4 separate regions of the Homo sapiens genome follow, and all the other regions are linked to region 1. The links are contacts of gene promoters, found by promoter capture Hi-C in blood cells and fetal thymus (Javierre and others, 2016). All regions are on one chromosome and are shown on one strand. The core of a region is centred on a gene start or on the middle of the fragment in contact, and the rest is flanking DNA. Distances in the headings are between cores, read along the strand shown.

Evidence for each region. The method cuts DNA at HindIII sites, captures the fragments that hold promoters and counts their contacts. A CHiCAGO score of 5 or more calls a contact.
Region 2: a fragment that was not itself captured here is called in contact with the fragment with the promoter of FAM114A2 in region 1 in 1 of 17 cell types (non-activated CD4 T cells); the score reaches 5.1 in non-activated CD4 T cells.
Region 3: the fragment with the promoter of FBXO38 here is called in contact with the fragment with the promoter of FAM114A2 in region 1 in 1 of 17 cell types (naive CD8 T cells); the score reaches 5.7 in naive CD8 T cells.
Region 4: a fragment that was not itself captured here is called in contact with the fragment with the promoter of FAM114A2 in region 1 in 1 of 17 cell types (total CD8 T cells); the score reaches 5.6 in total CD8 T cells.

The regions. Positions count from the first base shown.
Region 1 is chr5:154,037,304-154,040,231 of GRCh38, reverse strand. FAM114A2 (family with sequence similarity 114 member A2) reads left to right here and starts at 1,322. Exons shown (of 14, transcript NM_018691.4): 1 at 1,322-1,375. MFAP3 (microfibril associated protein 3) reads right to left here and starts at 1,265. Exons shown (of 3, transcript NM_005927.5): 1 at 1,221-1,265. The HindIII fragment of the contact is 2,878 bases long and covers 265-2,928 here.
Region 2 is chr5:160,429,103-160,432,384 of GRCh38, reverse strand. No RefSeq gene overlaps it. Among named protein-coding and RNA genes, the nearest start is that of PTTG1, 8.9 kb to the right of the region's middle. The HindIII fragment of the contact is 153 bases long and covers 1,948-2,100 here.
Region 3 is chr5:148,382,412-148,385,359 of GRCh38, reverse strand. FBXO38 (F-box protein 38) reads right to left here and starts at 1,402. Exons shown (of 22, transcript NM_205836.3): 1 at 1,321-1,402. FBXO38-DT (FBXO38 divergent transcript) reads left to right here and starts at 1,510. Exons shown (of 5, transcript NR_105057.1): 1 at 1,510-1,861. RefSeq lists an enhancer at 1,426-1,625. The HindIII fragment of the contact is 17,680 bases long and covers 1-2,948 here.
Region 4 is chr5:160,407,592-160,410,628 of GRCh38, reverse strand. It overlaps SLU7 (spliceosome associated SLU7), which reads left to right. Exons shown (of 16, transcript NM_006425.5): 7 at 1,932-1,979; 8 at 2,169-2,300; 9 at 2,561-2,658; 10 at 2,816-2,883; 11 at 3,014-3,037. Among named protein-coding and RNA genes, the nearest start is that of FAM200C, 9.1 kb to the right of the region's middle. The HindIII fragment of the contact is 3,120 bases long and covers 1-2,950 here.

The sequences.
Region 1 (2,928 bases), core at 73-2,572:
TAAATATTGATAGCTATTATAAACAAAAACCCTTTGAAGTTCTCAATACATTTTAAAAGTATAAAGAAATTCTAAGATCAAAAAGTTTGAGAACTGCTGCTATAATTATCAGCAGCATTTAAAAAATAAGTGGCTTCCCAAGATTCCATACTTTAGCCCCAAATTCTATGCATTTTCCATTACAACAGAAAATCAGAGGAAATGATCCATTTTATATTTAAGCAGGGGTTTTTTTGTTGTTGTTTTTTGGAATTTTAACAAGCTTCCAGGTGATATTGATGAACCTAAATTTAGAGAACCACTGTCAAAAGCAAAGGAAAATATCTGAAGAGTTTTAGAAGTGACAATTACTCTTATCTGGGAATTAAGATGATAATTCCGAGGGCATTAAATGGAGTTGGAAAACATGAGTTCTTAAAGGCTAAGTCCCTTCACCTCTCTGGGATTCAGTTTTTCTTATCTGTACAATAAGATTGATTTTAATATTTTACTAGCTCTGTCAGTCTGGATTTCATGCATTTTCACTGCTCGAGGGCAACAGAAGAGTTGCATCTTTCTGATGAGGTCCCAGGAGTAATCTTAGAGTCATAAATCAGATCATGTCATTCATCTGCTTAGAAACCTTCAATGGTTTTCCACTGGATTCCAAACAAAAATCAAACTCTTTATCCTTGCTCATAAGCCTTACAAGATTTGGGCTCAAGTCCCTGGCCTCATCTCTCTCCATTCTCACCTTGCTCCTTTTGCTCTAGCCAGTGGCCTTTGTCTTTTCCTTGACTTTGCTAAGTTTGTTCCCACTATATGGCCTTTGCACGCGCTATTCTCTCTGCCTGGAATGCTCTATTCCAGATTTTCATACGGCTTATTACTCTCCCACTTCGTTCCATCACATTATCCAGTCTAAATTTCTTTACAGCACTTACTACCACCTTAGATAATCCCGTTTGTTGACTTGTTTATAATCTGCTTTTCGCACTGCTTGAGAGCAGGGCCCTTCCGTTCGTTGACTGATGTGTCCCTGGAGCCCAGGGCAGTGCCTGGCAGGTATCTGGCTCTCAGTAAGTGTTCGATGACCGAACTCCCACACCCAGGCCAGACTTTCAAAAGAATGGCAAACATTTTCGCCTCCTGCACTCCCGACCCCAAGCCACAGGCTACGACTCACGCCTCGGCGCTCCTAGTAGTCCCCTCGCAGCGACCCCAACCAAGCCGTCACCTACCCGACCGCCGTCTAGCTCCTTCCGGCCTCAGCGGCGGCTTAACTCGGAAGTTTTCTCGGACACACCGGCACGCCTCTGCGCTGAAGGAGCACTTCCGGGGCAGTAGGAACGCCGAGTCGGCTGCCGTGGCTGTGCTGAGGGTGGCGGCCGGATAGGTGCGGAGCTTCCTGAACGAGGCAGGAGGGGTGCGAGGTTCAGGGGCAGGGCCCGGGCAGCCGAAGTCGTTAGGGAGGCGGTGACCTGACGGTGGGCGGCGGACATCTCGCGGCAGGGTCGAGGGCTGTGAAAGCGGTTTAGTGATTGAAGCGCTACGTTTGTGTGAGGAATTCTTGTCGTTGTCAGCGCCTGAGAACTTAGTTGGGAGCGGACGTTTACGTCGAATCTCTCGTTTGGGACCCCATTCTTGAATGTGGGAAGAAGTGAGAGCGCATGTTTGCTCATCTAGAGACAGCCGTATTAATAACGATAGGATACAAACCATCACCCCACCAAGTGATAGCAGCTGTTAACCTGTGGGCGGTTACGTGCCGGTCACTGTTCCAAGCCCCTCACATATCGCGTCACTGAATCTTTATAGGGACCCAGAACTCCATTTGACAGATGAGGAAACGGAGAGGCAGACAGGTGACCTGACTTCCCCACAATCGCTGCAGGACAGGAAGAAAGTAAACTCCAGAGCCCGTGCTCTTAGCTACTAAGCTGTACTGCTCTTCATTTTGGTAAATGGGGCGGGTGGAGTGTATATATACGTAATATATATGTGTGTGTGTAAGCGTATGCGTTTTTATTTCTTAAAAATATGGCTCAGCCGTATTTATTTACAGTTATTGGAATCTTTCTCCTCCAACTGAGAAAATAACTGGAGGAGAAACTACAATTATTTCTACACGCTTACTACACAATGCCTGGAAGACTTACAAAAACACTAAATAGTGCAGTTCCACGTACTTGGTGTTTATTCCTTTTTTTTTTTTAACCTTTCTCCTAGATTATGAATGAGTTGAGGAAAGAGATGGTACAGTCATTCTAATAACGATAGTAATGATAATATAAACAACCATCACCATAAAAAATTCTCTTCTGGCTTAGCTCAAATATCTGGCACAAATGAAAGAATAGAGATAACCAGTGTTTAATATTTTAGTAAAGGGACTGTTTTGGCAGGGCATGGTGGCTCACGCCTGTAATTTTAGCACTTTGGGAGGCTGAGGCAGGGGAAGATTGCTTGAGGCCAGGCCTAGGGTTCAAGACCAACCTGGCCAACATAGCGAGACCCTGTCTTTAAAAATATATTTTGGAGTATGTCCTTCCAGTCTTTCATGGAATTATATGAATTTATGTAATATGTATATTATATATTCTACATATAGTATACTGTATATATTTATGATGATGATAATGATGCGTTGCAACCTGGAGAGAGCATAAGGAAAAGATAGGAAACATTTATTCATATACACAAAACATTAATTGAACTTTGTGCAAAAACTGTCTCGTCTTTCCTATTAGATAGGCCCTTGGAGTGAATGGCTTACATTAGTTCTCTATCTCCACAGGTACTGTGGTACTACTTGGTACGTAGTAGGTACTCAAAAAATGTTTGCGAGTGAATGAATGGCTACTTCTAAGTTGGTTTGTATGTCAGTGAGTAGTTGTATCTGGATTTTTTCTCTATGTGTTTTGGAAATGTGTAATGTGTTTATATTAT
Region 2 (3,282 bases), core at 775-3,274, 6.4 Mb before region 1:
CTTTACTCATTTCAGCAAGTCCCTGAAGCACCTGCCACATGCCAGGCAGAGAATACACCAGTGCACAGGACACACCTCATCCTGCTCCCAGTAGAGCGGAGGAGAGGACCAGACACAGCCGAGCATGGTAAGTGCAAAGGCTTCTGGTAAGAAAAGCATCTCATTGGAGTACTAGAGATGGACAGGTTTGGCCAGGTGAATCAGGACAGGAAATTACACCCCCAAGGAGCCACCACAAGGCCGTGTGAGCCACACTGAGCAACTCAGACTTCATCCTGGTGGCAGAGGGACATCATTCCAAAGTAAATGAAGTGGGGAATGAGTGCTTGATGAGCATGGGTTTATTTTTGGGGGTGATGAAAGTGTTCTGAAATTAGACAGTGGTGATAGTTGCATATACTCTGAACTAAAAGCCACTGAATTGTACATTTTTAAATGAATTTTCTTATGTGAATGTTACCTCAAAAAAAAAAAAAAGGCCGGGCATGGTGGCTCACGCCTGTAATCCAAGCACTTTGGGAGGCCAAGGCCGGCAGATCACGAGGTCAGGAGATCGAGACCATCCTGGCGAACACGGTGAAACCCTGTCTCTACTAAAAATACAAAAAAAAAAAAAATTAGCTGGGCGTGGTGGTGGGCGCCTGTAGTCCCAGCTACTCGGGAGGCTGAGGCAGGAGAATGGCATGAACCCGGGAGGTGGAGTTTGCAGTGAGCCAAGATTGCACCACTGCACTCCAGCCTGGGCGACAGAGCAAGACTCCGTCTCAAAAAAGAAAAAAAATGAAAGGAATATCTAGAAGGAACTTTCAATTCCAATCAAGATGGAGTAACAGGGACCAGATTTACTCTCCTGCCTGAAACTAAAAAACAAGACAAAATATATGAAATGAGGGCTGCCCAAAGAGTGAACATCAGGCGACAGAGAACAGCGATGCCTGAGGAATGTGAAATAAGTGAGGTGAGGCCGATGACTATCCTTACTGGCTACTTTTGAGTTTCCAGGCCTCAGAGTGGGGAAGAAAGGGAGGCAGGCAGAGCCCAGTGAATTTCCTGAGTTGAAGAGACAGAGCAGAGTCAGGCCAAGGCAGGCCAAGTTTGCAGAGCAGAGCACTGGAGAGGAGAGAGCTGCACAGAGAGAACCCTGGAAATTTGCAGAGGGTCTCCCTGTAGTATTCAGAAGAGCACTGATCCATATAGCTGAAAAGATCAGAGGGAAGAATTCCTGAAGCCCACACAGGGCTGGGAATAGTGTCTGCTCCCACCAGCTAGACAGGAAAACCTCATAATTCAGGGGGCAGCAGAGTCCTAAGCATCTCACACTTCAGTAGTAGGGGGAAATGAGCCCTGGGCTAAATGCTGCTCTGGTGATGCCTAACATTAAAGGCAAGTCTCAAATGAATCAAATTGCTTCTAGGTACCTTACCCATACTCTAGAACAAAGTTTAAGAATATTAATAGAAATGTAAAAATACCCAGCATGAAAAAAGGTAAAATCCATGGCTGGCATGGAAAGTAGAAAAATACAACTTGTAATAAGAAAGAAGAAATGGTAGCAAGATAATGGCATTCCTGACTGTTAGCTCCTACTATAAGAAGGTACAGTATCCTGAGAGGCAGGCTCAGAGGTAGTGTAGAGAAATGCAGAAGGTTTACAGAGTTGTAAAGGTATGAATAAAGTCTGTCTTATTTCAAAAAGTGTCAGAACAAAATAGCAACAACCCCCACAAGATGCAAATTATCTGTATTAATGGAGGAGCATCTGCTTAAAGTTCTCAGTCTCAGCACACATTATGCACATTGCAATCTGATTAACAGCAGATGAAAAGATCAGATCCCTCTATACTCAGTTCTGACCCAGAGGACGGCAATTAACTGGTAAGGGACTGACTAGTCCCCTTGCTCCCAGCCCTTGGTTCCCTCTACCACAAAAGACAATTTTCCAAAGCTTCAGTTTGTGTTGCAGAGTATGAAAGCCATTCAGAACTACACTTTGCTTTTTTTGTTGTTTTTGTGAGACAGCATCTCACTCTACCACCCAGGCTACTCTACCACCCACTTTACCACCCAGTGGCATGACTATAGCCACTCAAGTTGTAAGCTTGAACTCCTGGGCTCAAGCAATCCTCCTGCCTCAACCTCCTGAAACTAGGACTACAGGCATGCGCCACCACACCCGGCTAATTATTTTTAATTTTTGAGAGACAAGGGTCTCACTACATGGCCCAGGTTGAACCCAAGCTCCTGGGATCAAGCAGTCCTCCCACCTCAAACTCTCAAGTGCTGGGATTACTGGTGTGAGCCACTGTGTCCAACCTATACTTTGGTTTTCTTAGCAGCCCTATTTTACCTGAGGATGCTAAACCTATTACTCTCCCCTAAAGCCAAGTGCCCTAGTAGTCTTATGGTATTATCTTCTCCTAGAAGTCTGCCTTTCCACTAATTCCAGAAAGTCACACTGATTCAGTTGTATTTAGAAGGTAAAAAGTTTTAAAGTCAGGATAAGCGGTTGTAGGTGTTCTTAGTATTTCATGCCTAATATCCTTCAGCTTCCTCCAATGACAATGGCAAAGTGTTCACATTCTAACTTGACCATAGAAGCTACTGATATATCAAGGGAAAGACTTCTTATATAACTTAGCATCAAGCAAGGGTCAAATTCAGGTTACTACATGGCCCAAGCGAGTAAAGTGAGTTAAGTAGGCTAGGTCTCAGAAGAGACATGAAAGGTAAAAGGATCACTTCAGTTCTCACTGAGGCCATTTAAGGCAGGGTCTGTGGGATAGAAAGCCTATACTCCACCTAAAAGGCAGCAGCCTGCAATCTACCTCCAGCCCCAGCAAGTGTTGGAAACAGGGTCTACTATGGACACATCTCTTTTCAAGAGAATCTCCAAAGCCAGATTGGTGAAACACTGGAATTTTAAATAGTGGAAATGATTAAGGTTTTTAAAATATCCACCCCCTCCCTCAAAAAGAAAACCTATGAGCAACCATTTGCCATCTCTATTTTGATTCCAACCTCAGAACTGAGATCAAAATACCAGCTCTAATAATTTTCTAGCTCTTCACATCTTTGACAAATCAATGAACTTCTGCGCTTCATTGTCTTACCTGGGAAAGTGTCAAACATTAAACATAATAATGCTTCTCAAATACTCATGTCCAACACAAGGTAAACAACTAAATACAGTTTCCTATAGGTGGAGTGTAGACCTTACTATCAGTAAATTATCTCCAGTGATCTTTAAGGAATCTAATTGAAGATCCCAAGGAGGCTGAATTC
Region 3 (2,948 bases), core at 153-2,652, 5.7 Mb after region 1:
CTTTTTCTCCTCTGCTATGCATTAGTATCTGTTTGACTAAATATAAAGTGTGTACCTCTGGGCACACAGCCATTTAAACAAAGAGGCACACAAAACTCTACATTCTTTACCCAAGGAGGACATCAGAATTACAGCATCACATATTTTAAAGAGGGGAAAGAAGGCTTACAGATAATCTAAAATGTTAATTCTCAAAATGAAAGTTAAAAATTACAAGCGGATTTTTTTCAGTCTATGCCTATGTAATACATACCCTCCAGACTGGACCTCCTCCTTCCCTGGGAAAATCATGGCTTTATAGAACTATTATTTTATCCTTCACTTGTGCTGGGGGAATGGGAAAGGGGATTAAAAACCAGTGACCTAATCCAACGTCTTCCTTTAGCAGATAAAAAAATCTCAAGTTCAGAGAGAGGAAGGGATTTGGCCAAAGTAAACCATCAAGTTAATAGCAACTTTGGAACAAAAATCAAGGTCTCCTGTTTTTCACTTTGTAGTGATTTACACTGCTGGTTTAGGTGTATAAAACAAAGTTTTCTGGACAGAGCTTCTCATTGCACAGGAACCTTCCTAAGTGACCAGTTGCCCTTGGCCAGCTTGGTGTCTGCAAAGAAACACGGTAGACATCTCTTAGTCAAATTCTGGGTGTGCAGAGTGCAGGGAGAATATGCTTTTCAGGTCTGTAAAGACTCCATGAAAAGGGAGTTAAGAATCTGATTTCCACAGCTAGGGCACGGACATCAAAGGCATCCAACACAGATAAGCAAACTGCAGCACAGAAAAGCTAATGGACCTAGACAAGGTCACACGGTGTGTAGGTGGAAGGGGTGAAACTAGAATTCAGGGCTCCTGATACTCAGGCGTGGCAGCCAAAGATGTGTTCACTGCTTCCTGCTCAGGGACATCTCCTCACTACGCTGAACACAGACCTCCTTCACTTTACTGGCCGAAACACCGACTTAACATTAAAATCATGAAATTCGTGACGCCCGGGGTGGGAGACAGTCACAGAAGCTGTCCAGTCCAACACCCTCACCCATTTCATTGAGGAAACTGGGGCCCAGAGAGAGTTCTTTATGCTGGATTTTGGGGCCAGGTTCAGACAAGCAGGCAACCCCCGCAAGCACGGCCTAGAAGGCCAGGAACTACAAATTCAACCCCTGATCTCTCAAGGAGCTCTAGGCCCCAAGGGGGCCAGAGGCCGAGCTTAAGCGGTCGGAAGTTCCAGAATCCCCACCCAGCTACCTCAGCCCTGCCGCACGCACTCCGGGCTTTGCCACCCCGCTCCCGGTCCCCAGGCCCACTCAGCCGCCGCCTCACCTACGCCGACCCTCCGCCTGTTATTGTGGTTGAGAGGGAGGGACGCTACAGACACTTCCCCGGCCCCTACCGCTGAGGCACTTCCGCTTCCGCCGCCGCTCGCATATTTCCGGAGTGTTGTCATCCGGGGCTGGAGCCTCAAACCCGTGTCCATATTGTGTGTGTGAAGAAGCATCGAAGCGCGGCAGCCATGTTCAGCGTGGCATTTCGGAAGGCTTGTCAGGGGTGGAGAAGCGGGGCGGGTTGCTGTTCTTTCACCTGACACTAAAGCGCCATGCCGGAAGCACTGAGTCTGATACGTCGGAACCAGTCTCCACCGTGTGGTTTGGTCTTGATTTCCACTGGTACTCTGGGGTCTTGGATAAGTCTCTGGACCTCGCCTTTGTCATTTGCGAAGTCGATAGGTTCCAATAGAGATTTTCCCAGAATCATTCAACTAAAAATAGAGAACTTTTTTTTTTTGAGAGGAAGGACGGGGGCGCAGTTAAAGATGTTAATGTTAAGTCATCCCTTCTGTGATTTCGGGACATTATCTTTGCACGTAAGTAATAGTATTTTACAGTCCAAAGGAATTTCACATGAGTGTCATTAAAAACTCTACACGACTCTGACATGTAGGCAAGGATCAACTTAATCACCTTTTCTGTTGTTTAATGGATAAGGAATTGTCTTCAGAGAGTGTAATTGATTTTCACAATGTCTCGCAGATGGACTGAAATTCAGATTTTTACCTTTTACATCCTGTGTTCTTGCCCTAATATACATGTAATTAATATGGGCTAAAATCCCTAGATTTAAATAGATACAAATACTTCTTAGGAAAGTTAGTGTGCATTAAAGCCATGTGAGACACAATTTGACAAGACGTAGCATTGACTAGGCTATTCTGCTGGAGAAGAAAAAGCTGAAGAAGGCTTGGGAATCCCATTTCTTCTTATTCTTTTCTTGATTGATAGCAGACCTACTGGTTTTTCCCCTCTTTCCCCAATATGGTTCGGCACCTTAGGTTTCAGCTTGTCTTAGGCAGTCACAGTTTTAGCTATCCCATTCCGTATGTCAAACCATATATCTGTGTTTTTATTTGGAGCTCTGGTAGGACAAACAAAACAAAACCTCATCATATTCATGTACTATTCATTGTAATCTCAGCTTTCATGTTACATTCTTCCTGTAATTGAAGACAAAAATGAATTTTTATGCTATTTGCTTCTGTCGGTTTCTTCATATTCAAACTTTAATAAAGGAAACAGACTTTAGCTTTTTCTGTTTCCCAGGTTATTCTGAAGAATAAATAGGAATTACGAAAGTTTCTAGTGCAGGGCATGGCATATTTAGAAGGCATTCAGTAAGATTTATTTCAGCACAATTGGCCTGAATTTTTAATTCAATGGAATATGATTTTCATTTTATTAGCATTCCTCCTTTTGTAAAAAGCACTGTAGTGGGACCTGAAATGAATACTCATGAGTAAGAAAGGTTTCCTACCTCAAGTTTAGAAAATTTCCTACCACAAATCATTGTAATAAATGTTAAAGATATTTTCTCACTGCTATGAGTGTTATATATAATAAGATATCAAAACTAGTTTTAACATTTTCAGGTAGAGCATGTTATATGTATCCCTTCAT
Region 4 (3,037 bases), core at 141-2,640, 6.4 Mb before region 1:
TTAATGTATGTAAGGGGCTAATGATTTTTGCCCACTTGGATGCTTGGATTATTTTTTTTTTATATACTTTAAGTTTTAGGGTACATGTGCACAACGTGCAGGTTTGTTACGTATGTATACATGTGCCATGTTGGTGTGCTGCACCCATGAACTCGTCATTTAGCATTAGGTATATCTCCTAATGCTATCTCTCCCCGCTCCCAGGATGCTTGGATATTAAGATGAACCACATACAGTAGATTTAGAGACTTAGCTGTCACTATAGAAATGTATGTAAATGTCTTTGGTGAACTAGCAAATAGTGGGAACTCAAAAAAATTATTTTTTACAAAATATTTATATTTCTAATTTTGAAAGTAACACATATTAAGTGGAAAAAAATTAGAACATAATATAAAAAAGAAAATATCCCTGTGTTAATTGTGAACATTTTGAAGTAGGCCTTTCCAGGTCTCTCTTGTCCACATATACCTGTTCATGTGTGCTAGAATACAAAATGTTTCTTACATGAATCCATCTTTATATATTCATTTATTACCTTCTTTTTTAATTTAACAACATAGAGTACAGTGGGAACGTGTTTTCTGTCTATATTTATAGACCTATAGCATCATTTATTTTTGTATGAATTCACATGGCTCAAAAATTAAAACAATTTAAGAAGATGCACAGCGAAGTCTCTCCACCCCTGTTTCTATCCACCCTAACACTAAACTTCCCCTCGCCCCAACTCTTTTGTGTATGTGTGTGGCTCCTTTCAGACTGTCTTGAATAAATACAAATACAAATATATACCCTTATCCTATCTGTCTCTCCCCTCCCCTTTTTTTAATCAAAAAAGTTAGGAAACGATACATACTTTTCTGCCCCTTGGATAGAATCACTTTTAATGGCCGTTCAGTGTTCCATGGAGTGCAATACATTATATAACCAGTGATCTATTAATTTGATTTTTTCCCAGTGTTTTGAAAAAACATTGCACATATACAACACTGCACATCACATTCTTATACATCTTTATATAATTGACATGATACTAGGATAACCTTCTAGAAGTGTATTTCAGTGAGTTTGTATTTCTAAAATTTTTATGACATATCACTTAGCCATCATTCAGAAAAGCCATGCAGATTTATGCTTCCATCTATATAGTATATATACATACACGTGTTTCTGCATCTCCTCACTAATGCTATAATGTATTCTCTTTTTTTTTAAGTATTTTTAATCTTTGAAGCCTTTATGAAGGGACATGATGAAATACCACGTTAGTGTAGGCATTCTGTGGAGTTAGAAAGTATTCTGACCAATTGCTAGCGAAGAAAAGTGTATCCTTGTGACAAGGAGTTTGGCCTCTCCTTAAATTACAATACTGTGTCACTTGTAGATTTTTTTCATTGCCCAAACTTCACTTTGGCTGTGAAGACATGAACCCAGTAATATTTTCTTTTTGGACTTACTAGGAAACTAGTAACGTTTAATGAATACAGTATGTCTGAAGACTAACACATTTAGAAATTAATATTTATTGGGTACTTTGGACATCTTAATCTTTCTGTTACCATTTTGTGGTTATAATCTTAATTAAAATTCTCTTGAAATTTGCTGGCTTTATAGACAGTGTAATAAAATTATTTACAATGGCACTCTTGTATTCAGAATTTTTGCGCTCATTATAACTGAGAAGTGTGAGAGTTTGTTCAGTTAGAATTAAGTTTTATTATCTTAATACTTATTTATAAGTTACATATTATATATTATATAATAAATATTTATTATATATAATATAAATATAATATATAATAAAATATATTTTATTATATAAATATATTATTTATAATAAGATAATAATACTTTATTATCTTAATAATAAAGTTAATTGGATTAAGTGGAATGAGATTATGAATGATTTTTCTTCTTTCATGATGCAGAATTCTCCAAAACACCAGTGGGGAGAAGAGGAACCAAATTCTCAGATGGTAATACATATTTGCTGTCTCTGAGTATATGTTAAATTTTTAAATTTCTGATGGCTAATAATAAATAACACTAATAATAGCTTTTAAAGAACACAAGTAAATAAGGGTTTGGTTAAAGGGAAAGGGGAAAAAAAAGAACTACATGCTGCTTTCTTTTCTTCTTACTTTTCCTTCCTCTCCCTCTTTTAGGAAAAAGATCATAATAGTGAAGATGAGGATGAAGATAAATATGCAGATGATATTGACATGCCTGGACAGAATTTTGACTCCAAGAGACGAATTACTGTCCGGAATCTCAGGATTCGAGAAGATATTGCAAAAGTAAGTCTTGTCAGCTTAACATACATATTTGAAAAATACTTGTCTTCCCAGCATAAATTTTATCGACTCTGGGTAGCATATGGATAATATAGTCAGAGTCATTCTAAGATAAGGTTTCATTCTGTTTTTTCTCTTCACCTGAACCCCAGAAATGTATACACACATTTATTTAATTGATCATGTTCAACTCCTCCAACTAGTCTGCTGAAATCTTTTTGCTGTGAGTAAACATTAATTCTTTAAATATTTTTTTCTTCTAGTATTTGAGGAATTTAGATCCAAATTCTGCCTACTATGATCCAAAAACTAGAGCAATGAGAGAGAATCCTTATGCCAATGCAGGAAAGAATCCAGATGAGTAAGTATCAAGTTAAATGTACAGATTTTAAGATGAGAGAAAGTTAATTGTTTTCTGACCTGACCATAGATGGTGTTCATTTTAATTCAGATTCAGTTTTACGAATTAATTTTCCTTAAATCAATCTCTGAAACATTTTCTTTATTTGTATTTACAGAGTGAGTTATGCTGGAGATAACTTTGTTAGGTACACAGGAGATACCATTTCAATGGCTCAGACACAGTGTAAGTGTTTCCTCTATGTCAAGCCATTTTATATCAGCTCATAAGACGTTTGGGATTGTTTAAAGCTTGTTTTCAAGAAGCATACAGTAATGCAGCTGCCAACTCACTAAGATGTTTTGAATTACTCTAGTGTTTGCATGGGAAGCCTATGACA